Linked DNA regions of Homo sapiens: regions 1, 2, 3, 5, 6 and 7 are each linked to region 4. The links are contacts of gene promoters, found by promoter capture Hi-C in blood cells and fetal thymus (Javierre and others, 2016). All regions are on one chromosome and are shown on one strand. Each heading gives the region's core, a stretch centred on a gene start or on the middle of the fragment in contact. The rest is flanking DNA. Distances are from core to core; before and after follow the strand shown.

Evidence for each region. The method cuts DNA at HindIII sites, captures the fragments that hold promoters and counts their contacts. A CHiCAGO score of 5 or more calls a contact.
Region 1: a contact is called between a fragment that was not itself captured here and the fragment with the promoter of RBM41 in region 4, in 2 of 17 cell types (naive CD8 T cells and activated CD4 T cells). The highest score is 7.2, in naive CD8 T cells.
Region 2: a fragment that was not itself captured here is called in contact with the fragment with the promoter of RBM41 in region 4 in 1 of 17 cell types (naive B cells); the score reaches 5.7 in naive B cells.
Region 3: a fragment that was not itself captured here is called in contact with the fragment with the promoter of RBM41 in region 4 in 2 of 17 cell types (total B cells and naive CD4 T cells); the score reaches 6.4 in total B cells.
Region 5: a contact is called between a fragment that was not itself captured here and the fragment with the promoter of RBM41 in region 4, in 1 of 17 cell types (naive CD4 T cells). The highest score is 6.6, in naive CD4 T cells.
Region 6: a fragment that was not itself captured here is called in contact with the fragment with the promoter of RBM41 in region 4 in 1 of 17 cell types (activated CD4 T cells); the score reaches 5.4 in activated CD4 T cells.
Region 7: a contact is called between a fragment that was not itself captured here and the fragment with the promoter of RBM41 in region 4, in 2 of 17 cell types (naive B cells and total B cells). The highest score is 5.3, in naive B cells.

Annotation. Positions count from the first base shown.
Region 1 is chrX:108,068,930-108,071,790 of GRCh38, reverse strand. All of the region lies in intron 3 of VSIG1 (V-set and immunoglobulin domain containing 1), which reads right to left. Among named protein-coding and RNA genes, the nearest start is that of PSMD10, 21 kb to the left of the region's middle. The HindIII fragment of the contact is 1,442 bases long and covers 543-1,984 here.
Region 2 is chrX:107,862,102-107,864,801 of GRCh38, reverse strand. The region is part of intron 3 of MID2 (midline 2); the gene reads right to left. Among named protein-coding and RNA genes, the nearest start is that of MID2, 38 kb to the right of the region's middle. The HindIII fragment of the contact is 209 bases long and covers 1,150-1,358 here.
Region 3 is chrX:107,769,025-107,771,786 of GRCh38, reverse strand. The region is part of intron 1 of TSC22D3 (TSC22 domain family member 3); the gene reads left to right. Among named protein-coding and RNA genes, the nearest start is that of TSC22D3, 5.4 kb to the left of the region's middle. The HindIII fragment of the contact is 542 bases long and covers 1,211-1,752 here.
Region 4 is chrX:107,117,572-107,120,428 of GRCh38, reverse strand. It overlaps RBM41 (RNA binding motif protein 41), which reads left to right and starts at 1,607. Exons shown (of 8, transcript NM_001324242.2): 1 at 1,607-1,663. The coding sequence starts at 1,656. RefSeq lists enhancers at 1,654-1,843, 2,224-2,303. The HindIII fragment of the contact is 8,519 bases long and covers 1-2,569 here.
Region 5 is chrX:107,787,227-107,790,057 of GRCh38, reverse strand. The region is part of intron 1 of NCBP2L (nuclear cap binding protein subunit 2 like); the gene reads right to left. Among named protein-coding and RNA genes, the nearest start is that of NCBP2L, 11 kb to the right of the region's middle. The HindIII fragment of the contact is 887 bases long and covers 1,073-1,959 here.
Region 6 is chrX:107,719,095-107,721,794 of GRCh38, reverse strand. The region is part of intron 1 of TSC22D3 (TSC22 domain family member 3); the gene reads left to right. Among named protein-coding and RNA genes, the nearest start is that of TSC22D3, 55 kb to the left of the region's middle. RefSeq lists an enhancer at 56-215. The HindIII fragment of the contact is 8,360 bases long and covers 1-2,700 here.
Region 7 is chrX:107,751,765-107,754,610 of GRCh38, reverse strand. All of the region lies in intron 1 of TSC22D3 (TSC22 domain family member 3), which reads left to right. Among named protein-coding and RNA genes, the nearest start is that of TSC22D3, 23 kb to the left of the region's middle. The HindIII fragment of the contact is 1,302 bases long and covers 777-2,078 here.

The sequences.
Region 1 (2,861 bases), core at 14-2,513, 950 kb before region 4:
CACTGAAATATTTATTCATCCTTCACTCAGCAAGCACCCATGCCTTCTGTGGGCCTGGCATGGGACTAGGCACCAGGAATTCAAAAGTAACTTTCACACAGTTCTAAAGTGGGGTGGGAGAGGGATGAGAGATGACTTTAGAGAGGGGAAGAGGCCTCCAAGACCACAGCAGGAAGAACAGGTTTTAGGTGAAGGGGTGACAAGGAGGAAGGGGTACTAATGAGGTCAGTCCGGGACATAGAGTTTTAGCTGCTTATGAAAACATGTCAGGGGAGAAGTCCTGTGGGAAGCTGGGAATCTGAATCTCCTCATTCATCTTACTTACTTGCACGGTTTATTCTATCTTACATATCTTATACATTTATATATCTATCATATCTACATATCTATCTTATATCTCTTATCTTAGATATTTATTTTATATCTATACATCTATCTTATACACCTTATATATCTATCTTATATACAGACAATGATGTAAATTTCTATACTTTCCAACTCACCTTGCTTATCTTCATTTTGCTCTAGAACCCTTTAAAGCTTAGGTTCTCTAATTTAGGTGAGTTAGACATGAAATGTGTCATATTACTCAGTCCTACAGCTCTTACCTGAGACGCAGTGGTTAAGGGCACAGCTCTGGATCCACACAGAATACGGGCTTTGTAACTCTACCCTGGATCTGTATAGGCAAGTTACCTAACTTAGCCAAACCTCAGCTGACTCATCTGTAAAACGTGACTAAGAGATTATCTAACCTCTGGCTGATCCAAGTATTAAATACAATAATAAATATAGGGCCTAGAACCTGGAATTTCTGTTGGCCACAGCAGCACTAATTCCTGCTACTAAAGTTACTCTCCCATTGACTTCCGCTCAGTTCAGCCTTCCCAGACTCTCACTATCTGTACACAGGTGCGAGAAGACAGATGCATATAGCTATAATTCTTAAACAGTTTACTAGCCCTATCTTTTAAGCATGTGTCTTTTTAATTGAAAGGAATATCCTTCTACTTAGTTCTTTATTCTTTCTTATCAAAGATTTTCTCAGGTAGGAACAACTTGTTGGATGTGCCTATCCTAAACTAAGCTATTTAACCAGAAGTCCATTGCAGCTATCACTAGATTTAGATACTGCCTTTTTAAAAAGATGGCTATTGTATAGCCTTTACAGCAGAATAGAACAATTTGAACAGAAAATTAAATGGGGGTGTTTCATCACAAAGTTGGACACCAGGACTTGAACTAAATTATGGCAAAAACCTGGAATGACTTGCACTCATTTCTTGAGCCCAGAATCAAACCCAGATAGGCATTTTTTTTGCTTAGAATATTTTTCTCCTTTTATTTTTTATTAACAAAACATTTAGTGAATCACTTTGAACCAAGTCCCAAACCTATATATTTTCTAAAACTACTGACCCAGGATTGAACTGAAATTTCATCCAGTTAAAGTCCCCAGTGGAACTTGGGTATTTTACTGGCAAAGCCATTGATCTACCATTTAGCTTTATTGCTTTCAACAGAATTGGGGTGGGAGGAAAAGGCTCAGCTCAGAAAAAAAAAGAAAAAAGAAAAAACAAAGTGCTTCAGTAGGTTCTTAAACCTTCCCTAAATCAATCATTTTCTTTTTATGTGCCAAATTGCGGAAGGTAGATGATGCTCATTCCAAATGCACACAAAATAATTATTCAAACTTGATCTGGGTATTTTTCAGAGATTAATTTTCCAAGGTTGTCATACCTAATGGAAAGCTCTCAAATGAATGGCCATCCAAACCACCTGGTTCTTTGCCCATTGCTGTTTCCTTCACCTAAACTGTGCCTTGCCATCTCAGCCCCTCTTCTTCATCACACACTCTTGCACATCCTTCAACATTCAGCACAAAAGTCACTTTCCTCAATAAGCCTTCTCCAATTCCTGATACAGCTTTTTGCCCTTTCCCCTGTGCCCTCATAGCTCTCCTCTCATACCTCCACTGAAAGCTTTTATGTTACGCGTCTGTCTCCTTCACTAGACTGAATTTTAGAGGGCTAAGACCCTATCTTTTACATTTCCCCATGTCCATTGCTTAGCACAGTAACTGGCACGTGTGCTCAGGGTTTGTTAAATGAATTCATGCATGAACGAGTAAATGCATGGGATTGATGCTCACTGCTGGGTAACAAAACATCTGAAAGATACATTGCTATGAGAGTCATCTTTAAGGAAATATCAACACCTCTCCCCACAATTAACCTGTCTCTCTTACCCACCTGTCCCCATCTTGCCTCACCTTTCAGTCAGGGCAAGCAAAATTGTCACTCATATACAATGAGATTTGAGAATTGCAAATAGTCGCTGCAATTTTTAGAGAAAATTAGCAGTCTCAAATTTTCCAAAAAGCCTACATTTGGAGGAGGCCTTTGTTCTTTGCCCAATTAACAAAAACAATATTTTTTAGAGTTCCTAAACAAACAAGGAAATCCACAGACCCTTCTGCCTCTTACCTTGTCTGGATCCTGGCTGCTTAAGGAAAAGTCATGACACAGAGCTATCTGACACAAAGACTCATGGGAAAAAACACCTCTGAGATGAAGTGACCCTCAACTTCTTATGGAAATTGATTTGGGATCCTCTGAGCTTTAAATTTAAGAATATTAACCTTCTTGTCTAACTTTATCTCAGGGCTATTTCCAAGCTCTGAGATGAAGAGACTTGGCTTCTTTAGATTGTTTCTGGTCAGAACATCCCAGAACCAGGAAGCAACAGAAAATCATTAGCTAATCCCTCCAGTTTTTGAACATTTAAAAACCCCTTTGATCTCCAGTATTTCATTTTATAGGTAAAATAACAAAACTGTTCATAACAAACCTGTAAAGAAG
Region 2 (2,700 bases), core at 5-2,504, 740 kb before region 4:
CTTCTAAGTAATCATTCCATCAAAAGACACCATTAATAATAGCAATGCATTCACTCTTTTTTGAGGAAATCTATATATTTGCAGTCATTGTGGTATTATATTTGTTATTTATATCCTGTTTTAAATGTGCAAACATTAATTATACTTTTGAGAGTACATCTTTACTGTCAAACTCTTAGTAACTGTTAAGAAACCCTGTGTCTCATGGAGACTACTTTTACCCTGAAACATGGTCATGTACAGCCCTAGAATGAGGACCCATCCCGGCAGTCTCAGCAAGAAAATATGGGTCCCAGCGTAAACTCTATGGCTGAGGACAGTGTTGATACCTGGAGCTGCCCACACTATTTCCACCCCTCATGGCACAAAAATAATCTGAGCAAGTAAATGCCTAATTGTGGGTATTATTGCTTCCTTCTGCCAACTCTAGGCAACTCCCTCTCCTCTGTACCCCATGAAGGGCTGTCAGAATATGGAGAGCTGCTCTGGGCTATTAAAGGTAGGCCAATGGCAGGAGTACATAAGAGGCTTACCACAGATTCAGGAACGCCAGGCCCCCAAACAGACCATATGTTTTTCTAGAGCTAGAGCTATTTAGTGGAGAAAAACAAAGGGTTTTCTGGAGCTGCCTCCTACCTATCTGAGCACAAATGAATCGGTGGCAAGTAAACCAACAACTTCTCCACTAGGCTGCACAATGCAATGGAAAGAACATAGACTTTGGAGTGAGAGAAATGTAGAACTGCATCCCAGCTTACTTATGTGTGACCTTGAGTAAGGCATCTAATATCTCTGGCCTTCAAGTTCCTCACTTGAAAAATGGGAATATTAACCAGCTGTATCACAGGATTGTCATAAACACTAAGTGAGATTAGAAATGATGTCTCTAGCACAGTGCCCAGAACAAATTATTCAAGTAAGATTCTCTTCCTCCCAATCCTTGCTTACCGTACCACAGAGCTGGACTCCTCTAGACAGGCAGAGACAGTAAGGACATCTCAATGGCTGTGTGCCTATCTGCTGTGGTGATAGTTGTTTTGGTTTCAAGTCTGGGTTTTTAAAACATTTGTTTAGTTTTAGTTGGGTTGATGGCAGGAGAGATTAGAGGTAAAAGTGGAACTAGAAACATTTCAAGGTATAGGATAAGCTTGATAGAGCCTTAGCTGAATTATTAAGATTCCATTAACTTTCCAAGAGCACACTGGAAATGGGGAATTTGGGTGGATTGTGAAAATAGTGGAGCAAACAAGAGGAGCCAAAATTAAGCAAGTCTTCTGGTCATTTAGTGAGTGACCTGGAATTTGAACACAGAAATGAGAACTAGAGGAGGGATGGGAAACGGGACTGTAAGATAAGCTTCACTGTGCCAAAGGAAAAGTGCAAAAGTGGGATGAAAGTGCATTCCTATGTGAACTGTTTCGGCTATGAAGACATGACCACACCTGAAAGCTTACCTGCCCTATAGATGTGAGGGAGGAGGGCGAGGAAAACAATATTAATCCTAACTAATTTTATCCTTAAACCCTGTCATGTGTTAATACCCTCCAAGTATTTCAACTGCAACATTTAATGTCTTCAAAAATGTTACTTTACTGACATAAATGAAGAATTGTCACAAAGTATTTTTTAAAAAGGATTGAATGCATTAGGTCTCTGAAAAATTATAAAGCACTTTCTTTTCTAGTATAAAAATAGGCTATGACCACACACTGGATTGCACAGTTAACTTAGGTTTTTCATCTATATTAAATGTCAATCGTTATATTCTTAATAAGATTGAATGTAATACTCTGAATTAGTCACTACAGTAGTATAAATGAATAGATTGACTGGATCACTGAACTTATTTTCCATTTTTCATGGAAACAATTTTCTCCATCTATAATTCCACAGTGGTTTCAAACTAGGTATTTCATTTTCACAAGACACTAGCAGTTCAAATCTTTCTCAGGAGCTCTTAAGTCTGCTCCCCTTGCTCTTCCATCTCTAACAAAAATATTCACAGAACATTTTTGCTAATAAACATTTTAAATCGCAAATACAAAATTATAGAACTCTCTCTTTTTAAAATTACTAGAGATGAAAGCATGTGACCCTCCCTAAAACTTTTCTTTTGGCTTTGCTTAAAGGCAGTAATCAAGAAGAATTTGGGCAGGATAATGGGCAAATTTACTTAAGTATCAACACGAAGAATCTTTTGGATATTCTTGCAGAAGGGCAGTAAATGTTTCCTTACTAAATAAAATTTGTTTAAATTAGTAACTGCAAACTAGCAGCTTATTGAGCACAATAACCCTTTTTAGTCTATCACATCTGCAGAGTTACTGGTGGGCTAGGTGGAGTCACATGGCCAAGGTACCCAATATTTTTGCTGCTGCAATTTCATTACCACTCCCTCTTCCCAAGAAAAGTTTTAGTTGATATATGTAAAATTTGAAATTGGTTATGAGTATTTGGGAATGATTGTTCTCCCCACTCTCAGAGATAGTGATAAAAAGCTTTGGAAGTCCTGAGGTCAGGGCTAGGAATCTCTGGCAAAATGTGTAGTGCCCAAAATTACTACTACTAGTACTACTGCTACTAGCAACTGTTCCTGCTATTACACCTCCTCTTCCTCTTTCTCCTTCTTTCCCTCCTCCTCCTCCTCCTGCTACTATGACTAGTATTACCACCACCACCGTTTATTGAGCTTTGACTATA
Region 3 (2,762 bases), core at 232-2,731, 650 kb before region 4:
ACCTGTAAACAATTGGGTTGGGGAAGAAGTGTATTTTAAACACCATCCTTTCAATCTTGTATTATGTAACTAATAACCATAACAGATTAATAACTAACACTTCTTGAACATTCACAATGTACCTGCATAATCTAATTTAATATTTACATCAACTCTTTGGAATGGATTTATTTATTTATTTGTTTATTTATTTATTTATTTTGAGACGGAGTCTTGTTCTGTCGCCCAGGCTGGAGTGCAGTGGCACGATCTCAGCTCACTGCAGTCTCCACCTCCTGGGTTCAAGCAATTCCCCTGTCTCAGCCTCCTCAGTAGCTGGGACTACAGGCGCACGCCACCACACTCGGCTAATTTTTGTATTTTTCGTAGAGATGGGGTTTCACCATATTAGTCAGGCTGGTCTCGATCTCCTGATCTCAAATGATCCACCAGCCTCGGCCTCCCAAGGTGCTGGGATTACAGGCATGAGCCACTGCGCCCGACCAAATGGGTACTATTATCATCCATTTTCATTTTATAAAGAAGGAAATTGAGGCTTGGAAAAAATTAAGTATCTTGCCCAATGCCTCACAATGAAGAGCAGAGCCTGAATTGTCTATGAAGAAAGAATTGTTAAGAACACTCAGTAACTAAACTAATGCTAAAGAAATTCTTGTAACACTTAAGAATTGTCTATGAAGCAGAGGTAAATGTGAGCTCAGAACCTTTCCAAATGGTCAAAATGTCCTTATTAGGTAGGGAAACCAACCATCCCAGTCCTGTGACATAGGACTGCCTGTGCTCAAACTGGAACAGTCCTAGGGAAACTGGGATGGTTGGTCACCCTGTTGTTAGGGGACTTCCCCCTTGTCATTTGAATATGCTTCTAATACTGGAAAACTTAGGAGGGAGATAGAATATTCTGGGCAAACAGCAGAAGTTTCCAATTTAAATGTAGCATATGAAAAAGCTTCCCAAGTTGACATTTGAAGAGCCTTCCTTAATTTTTCTGACCTGTAAGGTATAACAACCTGTAACAGGAGCTTTGACAGTATTCGTTGTGATTGCTGTTGCTGTAACCTCAAATTTTTTTCTAAGATTTTACCCAAAACCTCTTAATCAGCTCTATTCTACCTTTGACCCCAGAGCGTACCTGGCTAGTGTGGTCTGAAATACTCTGAATCCGATTTCCCTTCCAGCTCTAAAAACCCTAGGATTCTACCTTTAAGCTTCTGACCTGGCCCCAACTGGTTCCCATATATAAATGCTCAGAAAATGATAAAAATAGCAAACATTTCTAATTGCTTTATGTGTGCTAATTCATTTAATATCCCCTATTAATATAGTAACAAAGGGGAAGGATATAGATTCAGAGATCAGGTTTTCAAGAAAAATTTGTGCAAAAAATTATTTGTGCTTCTCTAAGTGAGTCTCAGAACAAGTAATTTCATAATGTATATTCCTGGACCTGGCTTCTGAGGTGGTGGCCACTCACACGGCATGATTTGAGTGGCTGCCTGCTGCAGTGCCTAAGTTCATACTATTTAAGATTCAGTTCTCTGTCCATGTACCATCTAAAATTCCTCTCCCAGAGCACCGCTGGTATGTAGACCACACTGTGAGAAACCCTGTATTAGAGATTGCAACGCATTGTCAACTAATTTACCATTTGATTTTGAGGATGGAGTTACTCGCTGTAGAGCGGTTTTGGGTTTCTGTGTGGTTAAGCCTGTCATTCTTTGCCTTTGTGATTTTTGCTTTTGGTATCAAGCTTCAAAAGTCCTTTCATAGCCCAAAGTAATTTAAAATAACTATTTCCTGAGTGCCTAGTGGTCTGACAAAGAATAGGCATTCTTGGATTAAGGGACCTTCTCCATTAAAAGCACAAATGCATTTGCAAACTTAACATTCATGGTTTGGATACTTCATGAGAACTCAGACTGGTAAGAAACTGTGTTTTTGCTGAGGCACAGATGTGAATCACATGTGCAAGGAGACTAGTAGGTGGGGGCCGGTCCTTTCACCAATGAGTGAGCCTGGTGCCCTACCCCACATCTACTAGTGTGTGTGTGTGTGTGTGTGTGTGTGTGTGAAAGAGAAAGAGAGAGATGTATTATATGCATATATTGTACATAGTACATATATATATATAGTGGTAAAATAGATATAAAATTTGCCATTTTAACCATTTCTAAGTGTACGATTCAGTAGCATTAGGTATATTAACAATGTTGTGCAACCATTATCATTCCCAAAATTTTGTCATCATCCCAAACAAAAACTCTGTACCCATTAAAGAATAACTCACCGTTTCCCTATTTTCCCCTCCCACTACCCCCTGGTAACCTCTATTCTACTTTCTGTCTCTATGGATTTGCCTATTTAGATATTTCATATAAATTGAATCATACAATATTTTGTGTCTGATTTCTTTCACTCAACATGTTTTAAAGTTCATCCATGTTGTAGCACATATCAGTACTTCATTCTTTTTATGGCTGAATAAAATTCCATTGTATGGATATACCTCTTTTGCTTATCCATTCATCTGTCAGTGGACACTTAGGTTGTTGCCCTCTTTTGGCTATTATGAAGAATGCTGCTATGAACACTGGTGTACAAGTATCTGTTCAAGTCCCTGCTTTTAATTCTTTGGGGTATATACCTAGGAGTGGCATTGCCCAGCACCTACTTTTCAACACAATTTTGTGGTCTACTGCTCGTAGTCAACACATACGTAGGAACCTGTCATAAAATGAGCAAATGTCTCAGGGCATTCCTTG
Region 4 (2,857 bases), core at 358-2,857:
AGTATTGACTAGGTAATGTAGTCATGGGTTCAAAATTCAAAGGGCACAAAAAGATACGTGAAGAATTTTTTCTGCCCTTGTCCCTCAGCCATCCAGTTCCCCTACCTGGAGGCATTCACTCATCATTTGTCTGTAAGTTCTCCCAAACATATTTTGTGCATATACAAGCAAACACACATATATATGTTTTTAAGTGACTAGAGCTCCCCTTTTTATGCAAATAGAAGCATAGTATACATATCGTTCTGCACCTTGCTATTGCACTAACTATATTTTGGAGATTGTTTAGTAGCAGTTCATAGAGAACTTTGTCATCTTGGTAACTGCTGCATAGTTTTTCATTGAATGATACATTTTCATAGTATGTTCTTGGATATTTTCATTTCTGTTTTCATAAACAATGTTGCAAGGAATGATAGTAGGTTAGAGGATATATAGTATTGAGGATTCTATTCATAACTGAATTGCTGCTTTAAAGGGAATGTACATTTATGATTTTAGTAGTATCCTCATTTGCCCCCAATAGATGTTGTACCAATTTATATTCCTACCACTAGTGTATTGAGAGCGCCCGTTTCCCCACAATCTCAATAAAACAAGTGTGTTATCAAACTTTTGGATCTTTCCCAATCTGTTAGGTGAAAAATGGTAGTTTAATGTACTTTTAAAAATAAACTTTAAGTTCTAGAACAGTTTTAGATACAGAAAGGTTGCATAGTACAAAGTTCCACATACGTACAACTCAGTTTCCCTTGCATAACTCTGATACATTTGTCACAGCTAACGAACCTTGTTATTAGCTAAAGAGCATAGTTTGTTCACATTTCCTTAGTTTTTACCTCATGTCTTTTTTTCTTTTCCAGGATCCCATCCAAGATACTGCATTACTTTAGTCATCATGACTCCTTTGGTTCCTTTTGGCTGTGACAGATTCTTGTGTTTTTGATGACCTTGCTAGTTTTAAGGAGTACTGGTAGTCAGTGTACTTTAAAATTTGTGAGATTGGACATCTTTTCATACACTTAAAGACATTTGCATTTCCATTTCTGGAAACTAAGAGCCTATGCTTTTAACCACTATACTATACCTCTTTCTTGATTCACCATAATTATCAATAAAACATATGTGGGCCTGAACATACACAGACTTCTGATTCTGAGTGGAGAAAACTCTCAAGTCTCTGTTACAGATAGAGGAGAACCATTAGTACAGGTGATATAGTCAGACTCGTGTCTGATGACTCTGGCTACATCGTGAAGGATGAAGCAGAGGCTCGACTGGAAACGGTAGGTAGGCTGGATAAATCCTTGAAAGAAAAGCAGTGTTGATAAGTTCAAAGGAAATTACAGAAGAGCCAGGAATTAGTGGTAATGGATGAGAGAATCAAGAAGTCAAAGGTGACTCGTTTTATGAGCTGGATATTTTGGGTCTTCTTTTGAACCTAAATGAGAAATTCAAAATAAATATTTGGACAATGTTCAGCATACCTGTCACTTGAGATCTACTTTCTCTTTCTGTTGCCATAGCTCTGTGCTACTACAATTCCCAGAGCCCCATGCTCCATCACAATACCCTTAGAAGTCCGCCGCGCGGAGTTCTGGGACTTGAGGTCCGCGGCCTATTTACCCAAGTTGGAGGTAGGGGCCTGTGGAAACATGAAGAGGTAAGGACTTGTCTGAAGAGCAGGCGGCAAGGGGAGCTTTGTTCTACCTTTTCTTTTGAAAATGGCTTCCATTGCTTTCTGGTTTGGGTATTGCACGTTCTCAGGATGCGGTTTCGTGGGAGCGGGAACACGACAAAGGAGACGGGAGGAGGGGAGACGGGCTGAACAGGCCTGCAGAGCGAAGTTCAGGAAGGGCTGCCACCGGGGCCGGCTGCTGTGGGAATGCCCTCCCGGCACGGGCCCCGGGAGCTGGCCGGGTGCTGCGGCTTCGTCGTTTCACCCGGACCCAGCTGGGCAAAAGGGTTTGAGGCTGACAAATTCCCGGCGCCGGAGATGTAGGTACCTCGGGCCAGCCCCTCGCCGTTCTCCCCTACCTCCACCTCCACCTGAGAAAGGCTCGGGGCGGGCGCATTTATTTGCAACGTCTGTGTGTTAAAGACTACTTGCTTGGGCCCCGAAACCATGTAGCGCTTTCGAATCTTAAAGTAAGGGAGCGGTACTTTGTTTCTAAATGTGGAAGGACAGCACCAAAGCGGTTCGATTTATGGGGTGGGGGGAGGGGAGGTGGAAGGCATTGCTGGGCTCAGTTCCCCTTACTTGTCCTGAGGTAAATGGCCGCTTGAGCCTAAATGGCCTGAGCCTCCTAACTATTGACGGGCTTAAATTAATTTTAGATTCACTCTGCAAGTAGAATCATCACTCTGGAATAGTGCAGTGCATTTAAAATTCTTACTGATATGCTTTCCTGCACTGTCAGTTCCTTGCATCTTTTAAAAAACCGTTTATGACTTTGCCTGCCTGAAACTAACCTTTAATATTTTTTTATGATATCTCCTCCATGCGAAATAATGTATAATGTATATATACAGCTTAAAGAATAATAAAGGTTCGCATCCACTACAAGCTTAAGAAATAGGACATTGCCAGTCCCTTAGAAGTCTACTGTGTCTCTTCCCTCCCTTCGTTCCCCCCTGAGGTGACCACTATCCGGAATTTTGTGTTATTAATTCCCTTGCTTTTAAAAAAGCAAATAGTTTCTAGTACATATGAATTTATCCCTAAACAAAATGTTCCTAGTCATGTATTTGAAGTATTCCTGATACTTCATGCTGGCGTTTCTATTGTAAAAGCTACTAGACTCAATGTGGCTAAAACAATACTGACTTTCCCTTTCCCAAATCATTTATTCCATCT
Region 5 (2,831 bases), core at 267-2,766, 670 kb before region 4:
TGGAATAAAAAAGATGAATTTGGAACATACTGAGTTTGGTCTTGAGGTACCTGTAGGATGTGCCATATTACACGTGTCAAGTATTAACTAGTATATGGGTTTGGAGCTCTCAAGAGAGGTCTGTGTCTGGGACCACAGACACAGATTTGGGGCTCAATAGGATGGTAGATAAAACCATGGGTATGGATGAGATGATCTAGGGGAAAGGTGAGGAATGAAAAAACCTGGGAAAGACTGGCATTTAAGGGGTGGCAGACGAAAAGTCCACAAAACAGCATAAGAAGGAGTAATCAGAGAGGAATGAGGACAGTCAGAAGATGTGCAACATCACCAAAGCCAAGGAGTAGGTCATGAGAGTCATGAGGACAGAAGTAGGGTGAGAGCAATCAATTATGTTAAATACATCAGAGAGAGGTCCAGTAAAATAAAGACTTAACATTGTTCATTAGATTTGGCAATTAGGATGTCATTGGTTTACTTAAAAGAGAAATAACAGTGGTGTTCTGGGAACAGAAAAGCCATAGTGGGAGCTGAGTTTTTAACAGGAGGTGAGGAAATGGAGAGTGTCTACACTTTAGAAAAGATTCCATAACAATAAAAGAAGAGAAATAGGGCAAATGCCAGTTGGGGATAGAGGCGAAGGAAAATTTGTTTGTTTCTTTTTTTAGAGTGAAAGTTGATCATGCCTGAAGGTTGATGGGAAGCAGCCAGTAAGTAGAGAAGGAGTTGTTGAAGACACAGATGAGAGGAGGGATAACTGATGAAGTAAGTCCTCATGGAGGTGAGAAAGAATGGGCTCCAAAGCATACGTAGAGAAATTAGCCTTGAACTGGAGAAGCTATGTGTATTTCTGCAAGCCCAAAAAAAAAAAAAAAAAAAAAAAGAGGTTAGGACATGTAGGGACACAACTATGTGGCAGGGTGGGGTTAGGACAGGAAAATGAGTGTTAGCATCCAACGACCTAGATTTTCATAATGGAATAAGAGGTGAGATCATCTGCTGAGAATAAAGTGGATCATTGAAAATAGTTGGTGAAGCAGAGTGGAGGTAAAATGATTGAAAGGATGAAGCTTATAAATGGGTCATCTATGAGGACATTAAGATCACTCAGGATGGTGGCTAGAGTTGGGGTGGAAAGGAAGACTATCAGTGAGGAGGTGAAGTCCTCAATAGGTGAGAGAACTAAAGTACAGCAGATGATAGTAGGAAGGATTGGAAGAGGGTGGCTGTACCATCTCCAGGCCCCATGGGGTAAGAAAGAACAGAGAACCTCTACCACTGAAAACAGAGGTTTCTAGTTGATGTTAGGTACCTGACCCAAAGTAGGTACTCACTAGATGTGAAGAAGTGAGTTACTCTTTTTTAAGCTGGTATGATCATGAAATTGCATCAGACCATCACAAGGAGTGGCAGTCCCAATGTGCTCCATGCTGGTCAAACTACACAGCGAGCACTACGTTCCATTTCGAGGTACTGTATTTTAAAGTGAACATTTACAAATCATAGTGCATCTGATGTTTATTGAATGAATGAAGGGTCAAGAAGTAACTGAGGACTGATTAGAAATTGGGGATGTTTAGTCTAGCAAAGAGATGGTTAAAGGAGGATATGACAAATGTCTTGAAATATTGAAAGTGCTATTTCTGCTCCATATGATAAAAGTAAGATTAATGGATAGAAGTTAAAAACAGAAGATTACAATTCTTTTTTAGCAGAGTTTTTAATTCATCCAGTGATAGAATGTGAACTTACCTAATCTATTCATGTGGAGGCTGCAATGAACACCTACCTGCTAAAGGTGTTAGAAGGGTCACCCCCAAGGTTAACATCCCCAAAGGTTAAAGAGAAGATAGAAAAGCAATCCAGTTGCCAGGGACCACAGATCACCAAGTTGATCTGTAAACACTGTGAGAGAATATTTCCTACCTAAAAAGTAGAGCTTGGTTGGAGTGGAAAGCTTTCCTTGACTCTTGCTACTGGAGAAAATTAGTCAGAGAGTCTAAAAATAGAAGAAAAACATGAAGAATGGCTCAAAATGATCAGTCAAAATCCTAAGAGGACGGAGGAGAGGAGGTGGCAAAATAAAGTAAATTATCTTCCAGGAAACAAACTTCACTGGGCTTTTGGAGTTGGCAGGACTCTGCAAAGAATCTTTTCAATGGTTGCCTTAAACTAATGCTGGGATTGTTTCAACTATGTGAAAGGAACAAGGATCTGGACTCTTTAAAAAGCCAGGCTACTTTCTGCTCCAGATGAAGGCAGTAGCTCTAAGAAAGGAAATTAGAAAGCGCTGGGACAGTAGTGTTACTACATGCCTTACCTTTATAAGACTGTTCCTAATGGGTGAGAGAGCTGAGAGCCATTGTTGAGGACTGGAACCCTGTGGCCAAATATCTACTTTGTGCCAAGAGAAATTCATGTCTGATTGAGACTGCCTAGTGCTCAGAGTGACAGAAGATGTTCATATGTATTTAACACCTGTATTTAAATGAGTAGTTAAACATAAACATGTCATGGAGGTGAGAGATGAGAAATTACTTAATGGGTACAATCTACACTGTTTGGGTGACGGTTACATTAAAAGCCCAGACTTCACCACTCTGCAATATATCCATGTACCAAAACTGCACTCGAACCCCTTAAATTTGTACAAATAAATAAATAAACAAACATAAGCTGAAACAGACTGGCAGAACTAAAGCGGAGACAATGGCCTGAGACAGGCTACAGGAGAAAAGAGGATAATAAGTGACTGTTTAGTGTAGAAGCTGATCTGGATTAAATTAGGAAGCAGGTGTTAATGGATGCTTGAATTTTTTTGTTTATCATTT
Region 6 (2,700 bases), core at 11-2,510, 600 kb before region 4:
AGGGATGTTTTTCAACCATCCCATTAACACTGTGTTAACGCTCTAGTGCTCAATATCCTTTTTGTATTTCCTTTTCCAGCTCCTAACCCAGTGTTTGCTTTGTGGCTTCTCCCGCACCTCTCGCATCATGTCTTTTTCCGCTTCTCCTGACACAGGACCCTGTGTTTTGCTGGCAACATTGCCGAACCTTTGGGTGGAACATTCCCTGTAGAAAATAAGGAAGACTTACCTATAAATAGTTTCCTTCTGGCTGTGTGGTACACAGTGCTTCAAGTGTAACAAAAAGGGAAGTGAGATGTTCCCCCTCATCACCACCCCCAACCTACCGCACCCGCCCTGAATCTGCTGTCCAACGCCATCAGGGCTCTGAGATCCTGCCCGGGGTTATGCTGCCCAGACTTTGCCCAGTCTCTGTTCTACTGTCCCATGGGAACCTGACGTAGGAAGGGCTCTTGTCCTAGAGAGTCCAGTCTGGCTTTTGAAGGGGAAAAGATGAATGGGAAATGCTGAGGCACTTCTTTCAGCTCAAAGGGAATATGCTGGTTTCCAAAGCCTCCTGAAATGAAGGGAATTGGCCCTGTCCTCATTACGCCACCCTCCATCTAGAAGGTCGCCCCTGAGAAAGGTAGGGTCAGCCATGTCTGTTTTGTTACTATGTCCCTTTAAGACTACAGCTGAGAGCCAGCAAAGGGCCTGGCTCCTCAGTGAGGTGCTGTTGCCGTGTTGGCTCTGGGTCCAGCCTACATTGTGAGTTGTGGGATGTCAGAAAGAGAATTTGGCAACATTTATGAATGTTGGGGTAGCTGGGCCATTGAATGCCTAGGCCACTGTTTCCTGTTTGGGGCCCACTTCCACGGGACACAAGGACCCTGAGAGTCTCAATATTGGATCAGATCATGGATAGGTACAGCACAAACTTCCACTCACTGCAAGGTTTGGCATAGCTATTCTGGGTGGAGAAATTTTCTGGTGTGCTGAGGGTTAAGCAGAAAACTCTTTGGGTTCCTCCTCCTTCCCCCACCCCCACCCTTCCTACCCACCCTTATCTCCCCTGCCCTTGTTGTTGGAAAATCTTTTTTCTTTTCTTTTCTTTTTTTTCTTTAGACAGAGTTTCGCTCTTGTTGCCCAAGCTGGAGTGCAATGCCACGATCTCGGCTCACTGCAACCTCCGCCTCGCGGGTTCAAGTGATTCTTCTGCCTCAGCCTCCCGAGTAGCTGGGATTACAGGCATGCGCCACCATGCCCGGCTAATTTTTTGTATTTTTAATAGAAACTGGGTTTCACCATGTTGGCCAGGCTGGTCTCGAACTCCTGACCTCAGGTGATCTGCCCACCGCAGCCTCCTGAAGTGCTGAGATTACAGGCGTGAGCCGCTGCGCCTGGCCAGAAAATCTTTCTACAGAGACATTTAAGTCCATATTCTTCCCTTAGGGAGCCAGTGGACCCTGGGATCCATTCATTCTTTCCTAATGGAGGATCATAAGGTCTCAGGGTGATCACATCTCACTCAGCAGAACCAGAGATGTAGAGAGGATGAGAGCTTGTCTGAGTCTGGGCTGAACCTGGGACCTCCTTTCCAAGTCTTTTTTTTTTTTTTTAACTAAATCTTTGATACGAACTTGTTTTCTTATTGACCTCATTTTCCTAAAAGCTGGAATAGGGGGAAAAAGGAGTTAATTAAGAGTTGCCGGTGAGTGGGGCTCCAGGAACTCAAAGTTTGACTGCATTGTGATTGTGCTGCCAAGACTCCATACTTGATTTGGAATATTGTACACTCTCCTACACGTTCCATTCTGGAAGCCACCCTGTTAGATTAATGTCTCCTATTTCCCAAACAGATAGCTTTCTTTGAGGATTGCTTGGCTGCCTTTTGGAATGATGTGGTTGAGCATGGCCGTCTCATAAAGCTCATTTGGACAGTTGGATATTGTTCCAGTCACCCATTGCAGCTCTCCTCTGCCTCACGTGTCAGAAAAGCCAAGGCTCGCAGAACTCAAAGGCAGTCTCTGGACCTCTCTAATAGTAGGGCTGCTGCTTCTCACCCTTTCTTCTTCCTTACCACTCTCTGGCACCTCCAAACCCCCTACCAACTTCCTCAACTCACTCATTCAAGCCTCTAACCATTCAACAAACCTATTCCCTGCCCCACTGATCAGTGCAGTAGGAACAGATTTGATCTCTGGGTCAGGAAGACCCTGGGCTGCAGTTCTAGCTCTGTAATTTATTACCTTTGCCGCCTTGGGCAAGGTAGCCTCTCAGACCCTTGGTTTCTTCATCTGTAAAATGATAGTGACAGTGCCTAAACCTTGGGGTTGGTGGTGCAGCCAGCACAGTGTCTGCCCATAGCTGATGCTCTATTAATAGTAACTATTATTGTCAGTGAGTCTCAGACTCAATTTGCTTTTATAATTGAAGTATAACTAATGAACAACTCAGACGAGATCAGGTGTGTTCAGGGTGGTATGGCCGTAGACAAATTAATGATCAATTCAAATGCAGCTTTGCTGGGAACCTTAACCCTTTTGCCTTCCCTTCCCATACCACCTGGATTTCTCTGCCTCTGTCTCCACATAAGGGAGTCCCTCTTGAAGGAGCTGTTTTTACTTCTGTCCTGTGCCCTGTTTTCCTGGTGGTGTTTTTCCCCTGCCAGCCCAGCTTATTTCTCTGTCCCCTTTTCTTCTCATCATCTTCCTTGGAATC
Region 7 (2,846 bases), core at 178-2,677, 630 kb before region 4:
GTGTGCTAGCAACTCATTGCAGCCTCTGCTCTTAGCTGCCTACCCACATAGCCCCATTCTTGTATCTGGGTAGAGTTTTGATTATTCCTATATTCATTATCCATTTTGTGGATTATCTATAGCAATCACAAAATTCCAGGCTGCCCCCCACCGACCTTCTAGCTAGTTTCTGGGAACTCTGGGGTGCAGGATCACTTTGATACCAGCCCAAGTAGTGCATAAAGAAAGTTTTTTCAAAAATAAATTACCCACTCACAAATGGATTCCAAATCCAAGTATGGCTGAGTTTCACATGGCTAGGGTAACATAGGACATGTGGCATGGATAATCCAAAATAAGAGATAATGTAGGAGAAACATCATGTCTAGCTAGCTTTGAAATTGCACCATGATAGGCCAGGCGCGGTGGCTCACGCTTGTAATCCCAGCATTTGAGAGGCCGAGGTGGGAAGATCATGAGGTCAAGAGTTCGAGACCAGCATGGCCAACATAGTGAAATCCCCGTCTCTACTAAAAATACAAAAAAAAATTAGCTAGGCGTGGTGGCACGCTTCTGTAATCCCAGCTACTCGGGAGGCTGAGACAGGAGAATCACTTGAACCTGGGAGGCGGAGGTTGCAGTGAGCCAAGATCTCACTACTGCACTCCAGCCTGGGCAACAGAGTAAGACTCCGTCTTAAAAAAAAAAAAAAAAGGAAGAAAGAAATTGCACCATGGGTCTAACTTTTTTCAGTAGATCTGCCTTCTTAATTATTTGGGCTGATATGAAAATAAGCTTGCACCCCTGGAGTATACAGAAACTAGAAGAAACTGGATGTAGGGAGAAGCTAAGCTGAGACCAAGCATTGCCACTGCTATTTCACAAAATGGAAAAGCCACCTAGAAATACTTGGGAGTTGATTTTCAAGCATACTGAAGTCATTTCTGTGTGTCTTTGAAATATGTCATATGGTTGTGGATGCTGTGGATTTGTCCATGAAGACCTAAGGGGTCTGCGTAATGGTACCTAGTTTGACTTGGGGAGACAGATCCAAGGAGTTACCAGGAAATCGATAGTTCCCTTCTTCTTCCTAACTATAACCTGATGGCTGTATCACAATGCCTGGTCTGATCGTCTGACCCATGTGAGTCTGAAAGTGGTGGCGCAATTCATCTGAGGAAAATCACATCTGAAACAGGAAGGGGCACGGCAGCCTCTTCAGCCAAGGATTTATGTATCTGTCACAGGAGGGAAGTGTGAGCTGAGAAATGACTCCCAGAAGTGCTAGAATTGGAAGAGGCAGCACTGCTACCTATCATAGTCAGCAGTGTATTCATGGGGAATCTATGCTACCTCAGGAGGCCAGCATCCTGGCCCTTCCTCCCTTCCCTGAGTCCATCCTCCCTCCTCTCTCCTCTCTGGCTCAGCAAGCACTTAAGAAAACAGAGCTGAGCTAGCCAGGTGCACCCTGTCAGTGGCCAAGCAGTAGGTAAAGGGAAGGATAGGAGAGGCTTGTACTGCTCCTGGCCTGGCATTTAGAGGCCCAGGGGACAAGTCCCAGGCCCTTGAGCCAGCCACAGTAGGCTTGCAGCTGATGCCATGTCACCATGGCTGAAGCTAGTGGCAACCTGAGTGGATGGGGCTTCTCTGGTTCCTGCAGCCCACAGAGACCAACAAATTCACTCAGTTGGGTTCTGTCTAGACTTAATTCTTGCTGTCTTTGTGAATTGATTTTTACATTCTGGCCTGCTGTGCGTATCTTGGCTATGGGATCTCTTGCTGAGCCTGGGACAGAGTCTTTTCTTCCTGCCCCTTCTCCTCTGCAAGGCTGCCGGACCAGCTCCCTTGGCAACCTCATTAGGCTCCAGTGGTGTCCGTGGGGAATCTAAACTGGGCAGCAGTGATCCATCTTTAGGGCTCTCATCCATCCAGGTGGCTCCTAACCTCTCCAACGCAAAGGGACTCCAGCTGAAAAATCAAAACCAGCCTTCTTTGGGAGCCCCACTCATTGTTTGAGACAGGCTACGAGAAAGTCCACACCTCCAGGCATAGCTCTTTGTGCTTCCCTTCCTTGTTCTTTGTCTCCAGGGCAGGAAGCTTGGCCAAGGAGGCAGATCACCCCCCAACTCACCACCCATAACAAAGAACTAATGACTGTTTTCACCATTCCCCTCCTCTGGAAGCAAGGGATGGGTCATGCCAGGCCTTGAAGTTGAGTAGGGAAAGTGAATCCCACCCAGGCTCCAGACCTGGTTCCTCCTCACCAGCACAAAGTCCCTGTATTACGAGGGAAGAGGTTAGTATGAATTCTGGATAAATGCCTCAGTCTGGAGAGGAGATTGTGTCTCCCTTGTTGTAAACCTAGCTGCCAAATCAGAACCACTTTCAGCTTGGATAGAGGAATCAAGCTCATCCCTCAGAAAACAGATGGTGAACAGTGTAGGCTTTGTTTTTCATACTCCCTTTTCTCACTCCTTCTCCCTTCTAGCACAAGCTCTTCATGCTACCCCCCGCCGCTGCTTAGGACTCTCAACTATAGGATGATAGCTCATGTTCCAAAACTTTCCTGATCTCCTGCCTCTTAACCATGGCCTTGAGGCCTTACTTTCTGCTAATGCGAATGTGATATGATGAATCCAGCTGAGGTGTAAACAGCTTGTAGTAACTGAATGTGCTCCCCTTCCCAAGTTGCAATTTTATTTAAACCTGGGCCTTCAAAAGGAGTAAGCAAAGTGAGGATTTCAGGCTCAGCCTAGGGCAAGTAGAGTTGAGTTTTGGGGCATGGTGCCTTTGACCTTTATCCCCTCAAATCATACCACGCAGGCAGCCACCCTGTCCATCTATGTGTAAGGCCATCCCTGAAAATC